Regions from separate parts of the Homo sapiens genome. Here region 2 is linked to region 1. The links are contacts of gene promoters, found by promoter capture Hi-C in blood cells and fetal thymus (Javierre and others, 2016). All regions are on one chromosome and are shown on one strand. The core of a region is centred on a gene start or on the middle of the fragment in contact, and the rest is flanking DNA. Distances in the headings are between cores, read along the strand shown.

Region 1 (6,319 bases), core at 952-3,451:
GCTGTTTTTGAGCCATTATTTACCTCATTATTTATCAATATTGTTAATGTCATTTTCATAGCAACCCATGTTTTAAAATAAGAGAAGGGTAAAAATATGTTGGGAGGATGAAGAGTGAAGGAAGAAATGTAAATGAGACACGTGCCAGGCACACGGGGACCCAGTGACCAGACTCCAAGAAAGCGCAGGACAGGGCTGGGCGCGGTGGCTCACGCCTGTAATCCCAGCACTTTGGGAGGCCGAGGCGGGCGGATCACGAGGTCAGGAGATCGAGACCATCCCGGCTAAAACGGTGAAACCCCGTCTCTACTAAAAATACAAAAAATTAGCCGGGCGTAGTGGCGGGCGCCTGTAGTCCCAGCTACTTGGGAGGCTGAGGCAGGAGAATGGCGTGAACCCGGGAGGCGGAGCTTGCAGTGAGCCGAGATTGCGCCACTGCACTCCAGCCTGGGCGACAGAGCGAGACTCCGTCTCAAAAAAAAAAAAAAAAAAGAAAAAGAAAAAAAGAAAAAAAAAAAGAAAGCGCAGGACAGAAAGAGCGAGGTGCTAAGACTTAGAGTGGACCCAGAGGCTCTGGCCCTCCTGTCTCCCACCACGCACTCCATTTTTGTCACATTTCAAACCTATCGCTTTTACGATATATGTTCAAAAATTGTTTAATGAACTGTAAATGGCTTGGTAAGGGCCGCATCGTAAATGGCTTGGTATGGGCCACATCGAGAACAGCTGTCAAATATAAGCCTAAGGCTAACCACGGATCTATTTTAACACTGAGCAGTTGTGGCTGAGTGTCTGGAGCTTGGCAGAAAGCAACGTCACAAGTCTGGCTTTTTCCCACGTAGACTGAACCCTCGCCCTCAAAGCTACAAACACAACAATTTAACCAACTGAGTGATCAACTAGGAGAAGAATCAATATGATCTCTTTCAAAAGCTTAAAATATGTCAAAATAGTATTATCTCAGAAAGTTTTTTTTTCCCAAAATAATACAAGACATTATCGAATTCTTATTTAACCCTTTTCTAAAATCACCCACCCACCTCATTGAATTTCCTTTAAAAAATCTTCATCCTGGCCGGGCGCGATGGCTCATGCCTGTAATCTCAGCACTTTGGGAGGCCAAGGCAGGCGGATCACCTGAGGTCAGGAGTTCAAGACTAGCCTGGCCAACATGGTGAAACTCCGTCTCTACTGAAAATACAAAAATTACCCAGGCATCGTGGCACACGCCTGTAATCCCAGCTACTTGGGAGGCTGAGGCAGAAGAATTGCTTAAACCTGGGAGGCGGAGGTTGCAGCGAGCCAAGATCGCGCCGCTGCACTCCAGCCTGGGCGTCAGAGCAAGACTCTGTCTCAAAAACAAACAAAACAAACAAATAAGAAAAACCTTTTCATCCTAACTCGTATATTATTTCTTCAAAAGAATAAAAAACGTGCAAATCTAATGCTTGTCTAGCTATTGCGACCACATTTACAAATGGATAGGCAGCGCTCCGGAGTTGGATGTAAGACGGTAGTATACAATCCAGGTGTGGTCGATTTAAGAAAAAAAAAAAAGAAAAAAGAAAAAAATTCCTGTCTAGCTAGTGCAACTACATTTATAAATGGATAGGCGAGGCTACGGAGTTCGATGTAAAACCGAAGTTTACAAGCGAGGTGTGGTCGGTGTAAAATAAAAACGAAAAAGAAGAAAAAAAAAAAAAACAAACCCACGGAAGTGGCCCGTACGGGGATCGAACCCGCGACCTTGGCGTTATTAGCACCACGCTCTAACCAACTGAGCTAACCGGCCTCCTTGGTGGGAGGGTCTTTTCTTATGTTTATTTAAATCATACCTGATCCATGCCCGCTGAATTTTTTTTTTTTTGTAATAGAAGCGTTACTTTCCCTTTTATTAATAAAATATATTTTTTTTTAAGAAAAGGAGAATTCCTCACTGTAGGCACAGGAAAACCATGCTGTTTCAGGGAAAACAATCTCAAACCACTGATTCTGACTGGAGAAAACTCAGATTCAACGACCCCAAGCAGGGCTTCCTTCCCCTCACCAGGTGAAGGACTCAGAACAAACCAAAAAGCAGCTCCAAGCTTGCGATCGCGGCCAGTTCCTCACGGAACCAACCGCAGAGCCGCCGCAGGTTCGCAGGATCGGAGGGTTCGGAGGACTCGGAGGGTGCGGATTCCTCTCTGCTCCTTGAGACCATTCCAGCCAGGTGGGCTCTTAGGCCTGGGAACCTGGGAAAGTGCACTGTCTCGCCTCCTGGCCTCGCGGTGGTTCCGCAGTCACCAGGACCCGAAATTCACAGCTGTGCGTCCTAAGCTTGCAGCTCCACAAACGATAAAATCAGACTTGGCCCTGCAGTGCCGGGCACCGGGCCCTTGGTGATGCTCGAGTGCCGGGCTGGCATCGGCGTAAATGAAAGGACCAGCGGGACGGCTCCTTTCAAGAGTCTCTGACTCCTTCCGTCCCGGGAAGACCAAGACACCCACATCTAAGACAAGGGAAGTCACCATTATCTACACCAATGATAAACGCCGGTATCTGGGAGGAACTGAGCCCAGGACCGGGTCAGGCAACTCAGAGTGTTGGGACAACTAAGTCCCTCTTCAAAGACTCAACTTTCTTGTCATAAGTTGCAAAAGTTGTACGTCAATCCTGCCTGCCCCCCGCCCCCCACCACACACATACACTCCTTTTTTTCGCAAATCCAGGGTTTACCCTATTTGCCAAAGTTTAAGTCTTAGCCAATCGGGATCAGCTTAGATTGTGCGGTCCAACCCCAGCCAATAGGGGAAGGACACAGAAACAGGAACTGCGTTAGGATTAAAAACTCCTTACCTCCTTTGTTTGGTGTGCTCTTGCAATTGTAACAGGCAAGGAGCACCCTTCTGCAGAAGTAAAGATGCCTTGCTGAGGAATTTTCTAAGTGAGGGTTTCTTTTGGCTACACCAAGCACTTGTTTCCAGTAAATCTTAGGGACTCGTCCGGGATCCCATTCTCCTTCGGGAGGGGCTAGCGATTATCTTTCATGGGGAGACGCGTCCCATTGCCTCGTGGTGGCCCCAGGAGCGGAGGATCGAGTCCCGCCCGAAGTGACGAATAAATCCGGACTCTCAGCAACGCGGACAGTAGGGAGGATCCTTAAGAATTCTGTGAGACCAGCTTGGTCAATACGGTGAAACTCCGTTTCTACTAAAAATACAAAAATTAACCGGGCGTGGTGGTGCGCGCCCTTAGTCCCAGCTACTTGGGAGGCTGAGGCAGGAAAATCACTTGAACCCGGGAGGCAGAAGTTGCAGTAAGCCGAGATCATGCCACTGCACTCCAGCCTAGGCAACAGAGCGAGACTCCGTCTCAAAAAAAAAAAAAAAAAGAATTCCATGGCGACCACAGGTAACTCTGTGCACAGACCAAGGTAAGAAACGTTGCTATTGGGGCGGCAAAGCCTTCCTTGGTGGTTGGGGTCTCTGGAGTTTTAAAGTGTGTGAGTGAGACATACCACTGGGCGCAAGGCGAGTGCGGAGTCCGGACTTGGTTCCGTGGTCACCTCATACGGCTTAGGGCGGTTTTCCAATCAGGGGATTCCACCTACCCGCCAATGCTAAGAGGTGCCTAAAATTCCCGCAAGGGAAGCAGCCAATAAGGACGAAGTGAGTGCTCACGAGAGTGCAAGAAACCTCCAGTGGAAAAAGGGGAGGTTGAGCCTCTAAGACACGGGAGTGCAAGAGATCTCTAATATTATATATTAAGCCTCACCAACCTCCAGGATGGGAAATAACCCCAAGTAAGACAGAGACTCTAAAAGGCCAAGCAGACAATAAAATTTCCCTCACAGTCCCCTAGGCCTAATGTTAAAATACTGGAAGGATAATGAAAGGACCAAACACAAGAAAAGACAGCAAATGATAAAGTACTGCTGTTTTATTTGGACTAAGGAACCCATCCTCAGACCTTCGGTCTTTTGGCCAAAGTTTGGGTGGGACGAGGACTGGATATGCCAACTCCTGATCCAGTATGTCAATGATAAAAGCCCAGTTTCTCAAGAGGAGATAGATTATGCTCTATGTTGGAGACAAGGACCTGTCCTTCTCTATCCCTTAAAGGACGAAAAAGCAAAGCCAAACTCAAAACCCCCCAAAGACGACCTAGCTAAGTCATATTCTATATCCAAAGATGCACGGGATCCTCTAGACCACCTTCCCCTGCCTACCTCTCCGCCCCGACTGAACAACAGCCCTTCCCGCACCTACCCCTCTGCCCCAAGCTAAAACTCCGTCCCTCCCCCATATAACCCTGCCCCATGGGCCTTGACACCACACACCCCCGTTGGACAGCCACTCGAACATGCCCCTCCCTTAGGAAAGCTCCAGTGGCAAATAGAACAATGCCAAAGGGATATTCAAAACTTTCCTTTCCTCTCTTCAAAGAAGTCTGCCCCAACCTTTTTTCCCTTGAGGGAAGTACCACTAGGAGGAGGGGATATTGGCTTCGTAAATGCCCCCCTTAGCTAGTGAAGAAGTTAGAAATCTAAAAAGGAGACTCAAACCACTGTTAGATGACCCTTTTGGAGTCTCAGATCAAATTGACCAATTTATGGGGCCACAACTGTATACCTGGGCTGAATTGATGTCTATTCTAGGTATTCTCTTCTTAGGAGAGGAAAGAACCATGATCTGCAAGGCTGCTATGATAGCCTGGGAGCGCAAGCACCCCCCTCGTCAGAATGTCCTTGCAGCAGAGCATAAATTCCCGGCCCAGGACCCTCAATGGGATAACAACAGTGCGGCTCACCGGGAAAACATGAGAGATAGGGATATGATAATTAAAGGGATTCAGGAATCAGTTCCTCCAACCCAAAACATTTCCCAAGCATTTAATGTACAGCAAGAGAAAGATGAAGGGCCCATGGAATTCTTAAACAGACTTAAGGAACAGATAAGAAAATACGCAGGTTTGGACATAGAGGACCCACTAGGACAAAGGATGTTAAAGCTCCACTTTGTCACCAATAGTTGGCCAGACACTATAAAGAAATTATAAAAGATAGAAAATTAGAAAGACTGTCCCATAGAGGAACTTTAAAGAGAGGTCCAAAAGGTATATGTACGGAGGGATGAGGAAAGGCAGAAGCAAAAGGCAAAAATTATGCTGTCCACCCTACAACAGGGAACTTTTCAACAGGCATCCCAGGGAAATAGAACTTGTAAACCTTCTGAGTACCAGGCTGCCAGACCCTATACAGGAAGCAAAGGGACGAAACCTGAGAATCAGGGAACCAGGAGGGGGAGAAGGAAAAACAGATGTTTCAGATGTGGAAAGCCAGGACATTTTAAGAGGAAATGTCCCGAATGGGAGAGGGAAAAGAAAGTCCTTTCACTCATGACATTTGAAGAACAGTGGGCTCAGGGGCTCTACGTCTTCCATCTTGAGTCCCACCAAGAGCCCTTGATAAATTTAACGGTGGGACCCAAATTGGAAATAGTCACTTTCCTGGTCAATTCGGGAGCAGCTGGCTCCTGCCTATGTTTTCTCCCATCAGATTTATCCTGTTCAGCCGAAGACCTTACTGTCTCAGGAGTTAAAGGGGAAGGATTCAGAGCAAAAATTCTAGAGGAAACCGAAGTCAAATATAAGAATAAGTCGGTTGCTACTAAGTTCTTCTTAATTCCTGAAGCAGGAACTAATTTATTAGGAAGGGACTTAATGTTAAGGTTAGGCACAGGCCTATATGTTAATCAAGGAAAACTCCTTACTTCCTTAAACGTACTCACCACTTCAGAAGAAAGCCGCATCCATCCCAACGTATGGTCGAAAGAAGGGAATCGAGGATGGGTTCCTCCAATCCATGTCAAATTAAAAACTCCTGGGGAAATAGTGAAACAAAAACAATACCCTATTCCCTTGGAAGCCAGGATAGGTTTATAACCTATAATTGAAAGCCTTGTCCACGAAAACAATACCCTATTCCCTTGGAAGCCAGGATAGGTTTAAAACCAGGATAGTTTTAAAACCTGTAATTGAAAGACTTGAACCCTGTATGTCCCCTTATAACACTCCAATATTGCCTGTAAGGAAGTCAGACGGGTCATACCAGCTAGTGCAAGACCTCTGGGCTATTTACCAAATAGTTCAGACCATCCACCCTGTTGTTCCCAATCCTTACACCATTTTCAGTAGAATCCCGCATAACCACCAATGGTTCACGGTGACAGATTTAAATGATGCCTTTTGGGCTTGCCCTTTAGCAGAGGACAGCTGGGACAAATTTGCCTTTGAGTGAGAGGACCCTCACTCCGGTCGATGGACAGTCTTGCCCCAA
Region 2 (6,596 bases), core at 3,651-6,150, 950 kb before region 1:
ATACACCGGAAAGCCCTTTTACTTACTTTATCTGGCCTCTTCCACCCTCCTCCATGGTGGTCCAGACAAGACAGATATTAAGGACCATAGAGTTTCTTGATAAATGACTGCAGGCCCACAACTGGTTGTGACCAGTCTCCTGAGAATGCAGATCATGGACTTCTGCCCTACATTTCAGTTTTATATATAGGACCTAATTATAACTCATTTAAATGTTAAATCTTCACCCCAAAGTGATCATGGGACATATCTTACATACATGTAAACCTAATACACATCTGATTGGGTGTCCTTCATGAATATTCATAGCTCCTCCTATAACCTGTTGAATATGTATATTTCTCCAACCCAATCCTCAAAAATTCCTGTTTTATCCCTCCCTGCTTCCCTCCAAGTGCCTGTCTCTCAGCAAACCAAAGCTACCCTTCCCAGCCTGTCAGAATGGCCACCTTGCAGGCTGCAACTCTTTGAGAAATAAAGCTCCTTTGCAAATGTATGAACCTTCTCATTCTTCAGTTGACAGAGGCCAAGAAGAGTCTAGACAAACAGGCCTTGCTGGGTTTCTCCACTCGGTTTATTAACGTTTCATCATACCCTTTTTATCCAATCAAATTTCTACAAGGTTGTCCATATGTTGTTGAACCTAAGCATAGAATTGGACAATTTTTCCTGTATCTTTGTGTTTTCATCCTAAAGGCTCCCTTGAAGACGTTAATAAATTTGTGTAACTTTTCTCCAATTAATCTGCCTTTTGCAAGCTAATCTTACAGCAAAGCTTCAGAGCTCGCCTTGGCTCCTATATAATAATAAACACTTTAACTTTTTATTCTTTTTAGACTTCAAAGTAATTGACCTGATGTTCTCATCCGAGTTTTTCTTGGAGCTTATGTAGCTTCCAGGAATAGCAAATTATTTTCCGGACTTTCTTCTTTTCATGAAATGGCATTGTGCTTCCACAGTGATTTCTCTTCCCCTTTTTTTAAACACCAGAATTAGCAGTTGTAGAGGCTGTCCCTCAAAAATATATGATCGAGGGGAAAATATTCATATAACATTTCTTTTTTTGTTGTTTTGTTTTGTTTTTTTTTTTTCATTTTTGGGTCATGCTCTGTTGCCCAGACTGGGTTGCAGTCTCACAATTATGACTCACTGCAGCCTCAAATTCCTAGCCTCAAGCAATCCTCCTAACTCAGCCTCCTGGGTCACTGGCATTATCGGACTGAGCCACTGTGCCCGGCTAAAAGAATTTCAAATACTGTCCACTTACTGATATTTTGCTATGGAAAAATTCAAACATCAATAATTTTGCTAGTTGCCCACCTCTTCTTGCGTCATTGAGTAATGGCTTAACAAGCCCCCTTAGCTCTCTAACACAACTGTATAGACATATAGATGTAGATATAAATATAGATATTGATTTATTGTAAATAAAGTCCAGATGCTATAACTGGGTTCATAGAAATATATTGAATGTACTCATTGTTTCAAGGCCTATGCTGTCAAGATATGGTAAAGAATCAAGAAACAGAGAAGAGAAATGAAGAATCCTGGAACAGTGCTATCTACAAAGAATAATGCAAGCCACGGCCAGATGCGGTGGCTCATGCTTGTAATCCCAGCACTTTGGGAGGCCAAGGCAGGTGGATCACCTGAGGTCAGGAGTTCAAGATCAGCCTGGCCAAAATGGTGAAACTCCCCCCATCTCCACTAAAAATACCAAAACTACCTGGGTGTGGTGGCTGGTGCCTGTAATCCCAGCTACTCAGGAGGCTGAGGCAGGAAAATCGCTGGAACCGGAGAGGCAGAGGTTGCAGTAAGCTAAGACGGCAGCACTGCACTGCAGCCTGGGTGACAGAGCAAGACTCTGCCTCAAAAAAAAAATAAAAATAAAAAAGAATAATGCAAGCCACATATGTAATTTTGAATTTTCCAGTAAGCACATTTTAAAAATTAATAAGCAGGTAAAAGAATTTTAATAATTATTGTATTTAAAACAAAATACAAAATAATTATTTCAAAATATAGTCAATATAAAAACATTATTAATGCAATATTTCACATTCTTTTTTAAATCTTAAGTCTTCTAAATATGAGGGACATCCTATTCAATTTGATATTACATTTTTGTTGGAAATAAATGGAATTTCATTTTGATTTCATAAATTTCAGTGCTGAAAAATAAAATTCATATATCTGATTGTTTAAAACATATCTAACATTTTCCAATAACTGAAGTATCAGCCTTTGAATTAAAATAATGAAAAGTAAAATAAAAATTCAGGCCGGGCACAGTGGCTCACGGCTATAATCCCAGCACTTTGGGAGGCCGAGGTGGATGGATTACTTAAGGTCAGGAAATCGAGACCAGCCTAGCCAACATGATGAAACCCCGTTTCTACTAAAAATACCTCCACCCCACCCCCCCCAAAAAAATAAGCCGGGCATGGTGACAAGCACCTGTAACTACAGCTACTCTGGAGACTGAGGCAGGAGAATCGCTTAAACTCGGGAGGTGGAGCTAACAGTGAGCTGAGATCACCCCACTGCACTCCATCCTGAGTGACAGAGCAAGACTCCTTCTCAAAAAAAAAAGAAAGTCAGTCCTCAGCAGCAACAACCACATTTCAAATGCTCAGTAGCCACAACTGGTTTCTGACTGTTTTATCACATAACACAGATCCTATGGGAAATTGTGTTCAGGTATGGAAATAGTGATGGAAATTACTGATTAATACAAGTGAGCTGCTAAGTTCTTATGTAATCATGTAAATTTTGCACTGACTTCTAAAATAAAGCTTTACACATATTTAGAGATGAGGATTATGAAAGGAACTGAAGGTAGGTTCCAATGGCAAAACACCGGATTGACAGATTTAAGAACACTGGGGAGGAAATAGAACTATGGGGCATAAAGATGGAATTTCCTTAATGGTTCTCACTGACTGTGACCTAAAGTTTATCTTTTGATTTTGGAAACATTTTTTAGATGTAGATATTAACATTCTAATAATAGAAATGAAAAAACTAAAATGAAAATGAGAAAACAGAAGATAATATCAATAAACAGGTCTTGGGCCTCAGAAGATGAGATGTAGGGAGTGTGGAGAGGAAAAGCACAGGGGGTGCATAGCTCTCATTAACAAACGGCCCAGCCCACAAATACGTAATCATATTATACAAAAGGATTTCAGTTCTTCCCTTGCTTCCTATGAAACAATTTTGCCAACATACCTAACCGTTTTACCGTGATTTAAAGTGTACAGAATTTTCTTTTTCTGAAAAGGAGAGAAGCAAGGGACTCATATATATTTCAGATGTGAGATTGAAACGCACGACAATGTGTAATTTCAGTCAAGACTTGCCCACGAGTCCTAAGATAATTCAAATTTGCAAAATAGACACTAACTTGAAAGGTGCAATTGTATCAATCCTGTGGTTAGCAGAATTTTGATGAATGCCCTAAAATAGGGCAGGTTTAACAGAATTCAGGGAATGAGCAGGAATGCACAAAGCATCCTTTGTCTCCTCTCCACTCCAGCTTGCAGACATCCGCGGGCATTTGCGGGCAGTGATAAATTTGGTTTAGCCGTTTCCCCTCCCTGGAGGACGGGGGCTCCAGCATATTCATGATGTCAATCGCCTTGGACTACATGCCAGCGTCATTGCGAACCTGCTACACTTTACAAAATAGCTTTCCAATGAGAAAGAAAACCTACTGGGAAAGAAAAACAAAAAGAAACTAGACCTTGCAACGGGCACGCACGCGCACTATCCCTCTCTGAAATATTTATAGTACGCTTACACAAACGCGAACTTGTAAATCAAAACTCTGCCTGAACCAAAGTAGCCAATAGATTAAAAGTATGTAAATTAGGAATTCCCAAACTGCTCTTTTTATTGGCTAGGAAAAGAACACCTTACAGGGAATCCGATAGGTTAATTCACAATAGTGTTAGGCTGTAATGTCATTCTTTAAGAATCTTTTCCAGTAAACATTTGTTACTTTTTCAAAGTAATTGGGAGCTGTTGAGTGTGGAAGCGAAAACCAAGTTAAGAAGTCCTGTTATTTGGGTGAGTCCAGTTCCTATAAAAGTTCTGTTGGATGTGTCTTAAATTGTTCGGTGCACCTCAGCTCTCTCCCGCAGGGATCCGGAGAAACTGCGCCATTGTTGTCTTACAGAGAAACAACCTTCTAACACTCTCTTCGCCGCCATCTTTTTCAAGATTTTAAATTGAAAATACTTTTTTTGACGGCTCTTGCCATTATGTCTGGACGTTTTAATTTCAACAAAACGAAATAATAGTGTTAAGTTCTTTGAGTCAAACCCGATATTACAGAGGTAGGGATTCCAGGATATTAGAATTTTACTATAACACAAATGAAACACAAAGTTCCTTATGCTTAACAGTGTATCTTAGAAAACCTTGTTTGAGTGAATTAGCCTTGTACTCTATAATGAAACGAGGAATCATTGAGAGATACTTAGGCAACGGATTTTAAATGAGTGAATAAGGAAGGGAAAAACTTCAGGAAAATGCAGAAAAAAGCAGCGGAGATTTTGGAAAAAAAATTCTAAAGCACTTTCTAACGCAAACACATTCGATTTTTTATAGCTAAACAGGATAACAGATCAGTCTATTAAGTTAAATGATCAATGTCTTTGCAGGTCATGGTCTACGTGAAACATCAAAGAAACCTGTAACGGAAAACGACTTGTTTGAAAGAGCCAGTTCTCTATCCAAATTTACCAATCAGAATCTTGCACTGAAAAAATAAACCAATCGTGAATCTCTACGGCCACTTCCGGAATTTAGCAACCGATCACTAACAGGGATCGTCCACAATCCAATCAGAGTGATTCTGTTCCTATATAGAGGGGCAAACCAATCTTCCTAACTCATTTACTTTGCAGATGAACTATGGCGCGTACTAAGCAGACGGCTCGTAAATCCACAGGCGGTAAAGCACCGCGCAAACAGCTGGCCACTAAGGCAGCTCGCAAGAGCGCTCCGGCCACGGGCGGCGTGAAGAAGCCCCATCGCTACCGCCCTGGCACCGTGGCTCTGCGCGAGATCCGTCGCTACCAGAAGTCTACCGAGCTTCTAATCCGGAAGCTGCCGTTTCAGCGCCTGGTGCGAGAAATAGCTCAGGACTTCAAGACCGACCTGCGCTTCCAGAGTTCCGCGGTGATGGCGCTGCAGGAGGCCTGCGAGGCCTACTTGGTGGGGCTTTTCGAGGACACCAACCTGTGCGCTATTCATGCCAAACGCGTGACCATCATGCCTAAAGACATCCAGCTTGCCCGCCGCATTCGTGGGGAGAGGGCGTGAATTGTTTTGAGTACAAACCTTAAATCCAAAGGCTCTTCTCAGAGCCAACCACTTTGTCCGTGAAAAGGGCTGTAATCCTTTGAGACGCATTAGACCACTAAACTGCACTGATCCAAATAGACATTTGAAATAGTGGCATTCAGTTCCCTCGATGCTTCATTTAAATTTCCAAATTTAAGCGCTCCCTCAGGTTTTCGCCTAGGGCTGGGCCTCCCTACGCTGTTCTCCATTGGTTTAGCTGGCTTTGTTTTGCTGTTCAGGCCCTCTGCTGCTTTCTTGTACATTGTTCTCGTTTTCTAAACTCCTGGCCACTTAATTGTACCCTGCTTAACCCATCCTCTTGTTTTCTGGCTCAACGCTCTTTCATGTGGTGGCCTGCATTTTAGGTCTTAACTGCATAGGCTTTCAACGCCTTGGTTTTGCCTTTCCTTGATGTTTATTTGACCTTGCCCGAGGGGCCAGCGCTTTTGATCTGCATCAGGCTGCCTTACTCCACTAGTGTTTTGAGACCCAGCTACTTGCCGGCGACGGTCGGTGCCTTGGGTGCGGTCAACGTTACTCTCTGTGCGCCTGATACTGGTCTAAGGCTAAGGTTATTAGCTGGAACACCTAGACCCGTGGCACTAACACACAGCTCTTGCAGACTTGACAGCCTTGCATAGGTTCTAAACTGCAGGAGTCAAAGCAACGAAGGTGCAGATGGGTGTGTCTCAAACCTGAGTGCGAAAGGAAAATGCAGAAATCATGAGCCTTTTCAACTTTCCAGTTGATATCTTTTGTTTGCTTTTTTCTTTTCTTATTTATTTATTTATTTATTTATTTATTTATTTATTTATTTATTTTGAGACGGAGTTTCGCCCTTGTTGCCCAGGCTGGAGTGCATTGGCGCGATCTCGGCTCACCGCAACCTCCGCCTCCCGGGTTCAAGCGATTCTCCTGCCTCAGCCTTCCGAGTAGCTGGGATTACAGGCATGAGCCACCTCGCCCGGCCTTCCGGCTGATATCTTAAAAGAACTTTTCAACTTTAGTAAATACCCTGTCTTAATCAAATCTCATTAAAAGTACCCCATATTTATCAACAAAACATGAAAATCCTTGGACGGCTTCAAAGTTCTTACAGAAAATATTCTGCCTTTCCTTTCCATACAAAGGCACAGCTTCGAAACTGGTAGGTGAAGGGAAGGAAAATAAGGAATTCTGTTACGAAATCATACAGGCTGTTATTTGGAAATACAGAAGGGTGTATGTACTATATGGGATACTGC

The links. The method cuts DNA at HindIII sites, captures the fragments that hold promoters and counts their contacts. A CHiCAGO score of 5 or more calls a contact.
Region 2: the fragment with the promoter of H3C6 here is called in contact with a fragment that was not itself captured in region 1 in 2 of 17 cell types (fetal thymus and total B cells); the score reaches 9.0 in fetal thymus.

Annotation. Positions count from the first base shown.
Region 1 is chr6:27,175,497-27,181,815 of GRCh38, forward strand. TRI-AAT5-2 (tRNA-Ile (anticodon AAT) 5-2) reads right to left here and starts at 1,792; the gene lies at 1,719-1,792. RefSeq lists a cis regulatory region at 1,631-2,708, a silencer at 1,698-1,847 and enhancers at 2,050-2,249, 2,440-2,539, 2,890-2,949. The HindIII fragment of the contact is 232 bases long and covers 2,086-2,317 here.
Region 2 is chr6:26,220,235-26,226,830 of GRCh38, forward strand. H3C6 (H3 clustered histone 6) reads left to right here and starts at 4,901. Exons shown (of 1, transcript NM_003532.3): 1 at 4,901-5,382. The coding sequence starts at 4,921. The coding sequence ends at 5,331. RefSeq lists enhancers at 4,911-5,527, 5,528-6,143. The HindIII fragment of the contact is 11,157 bases long and covers 2,794-6,596 here.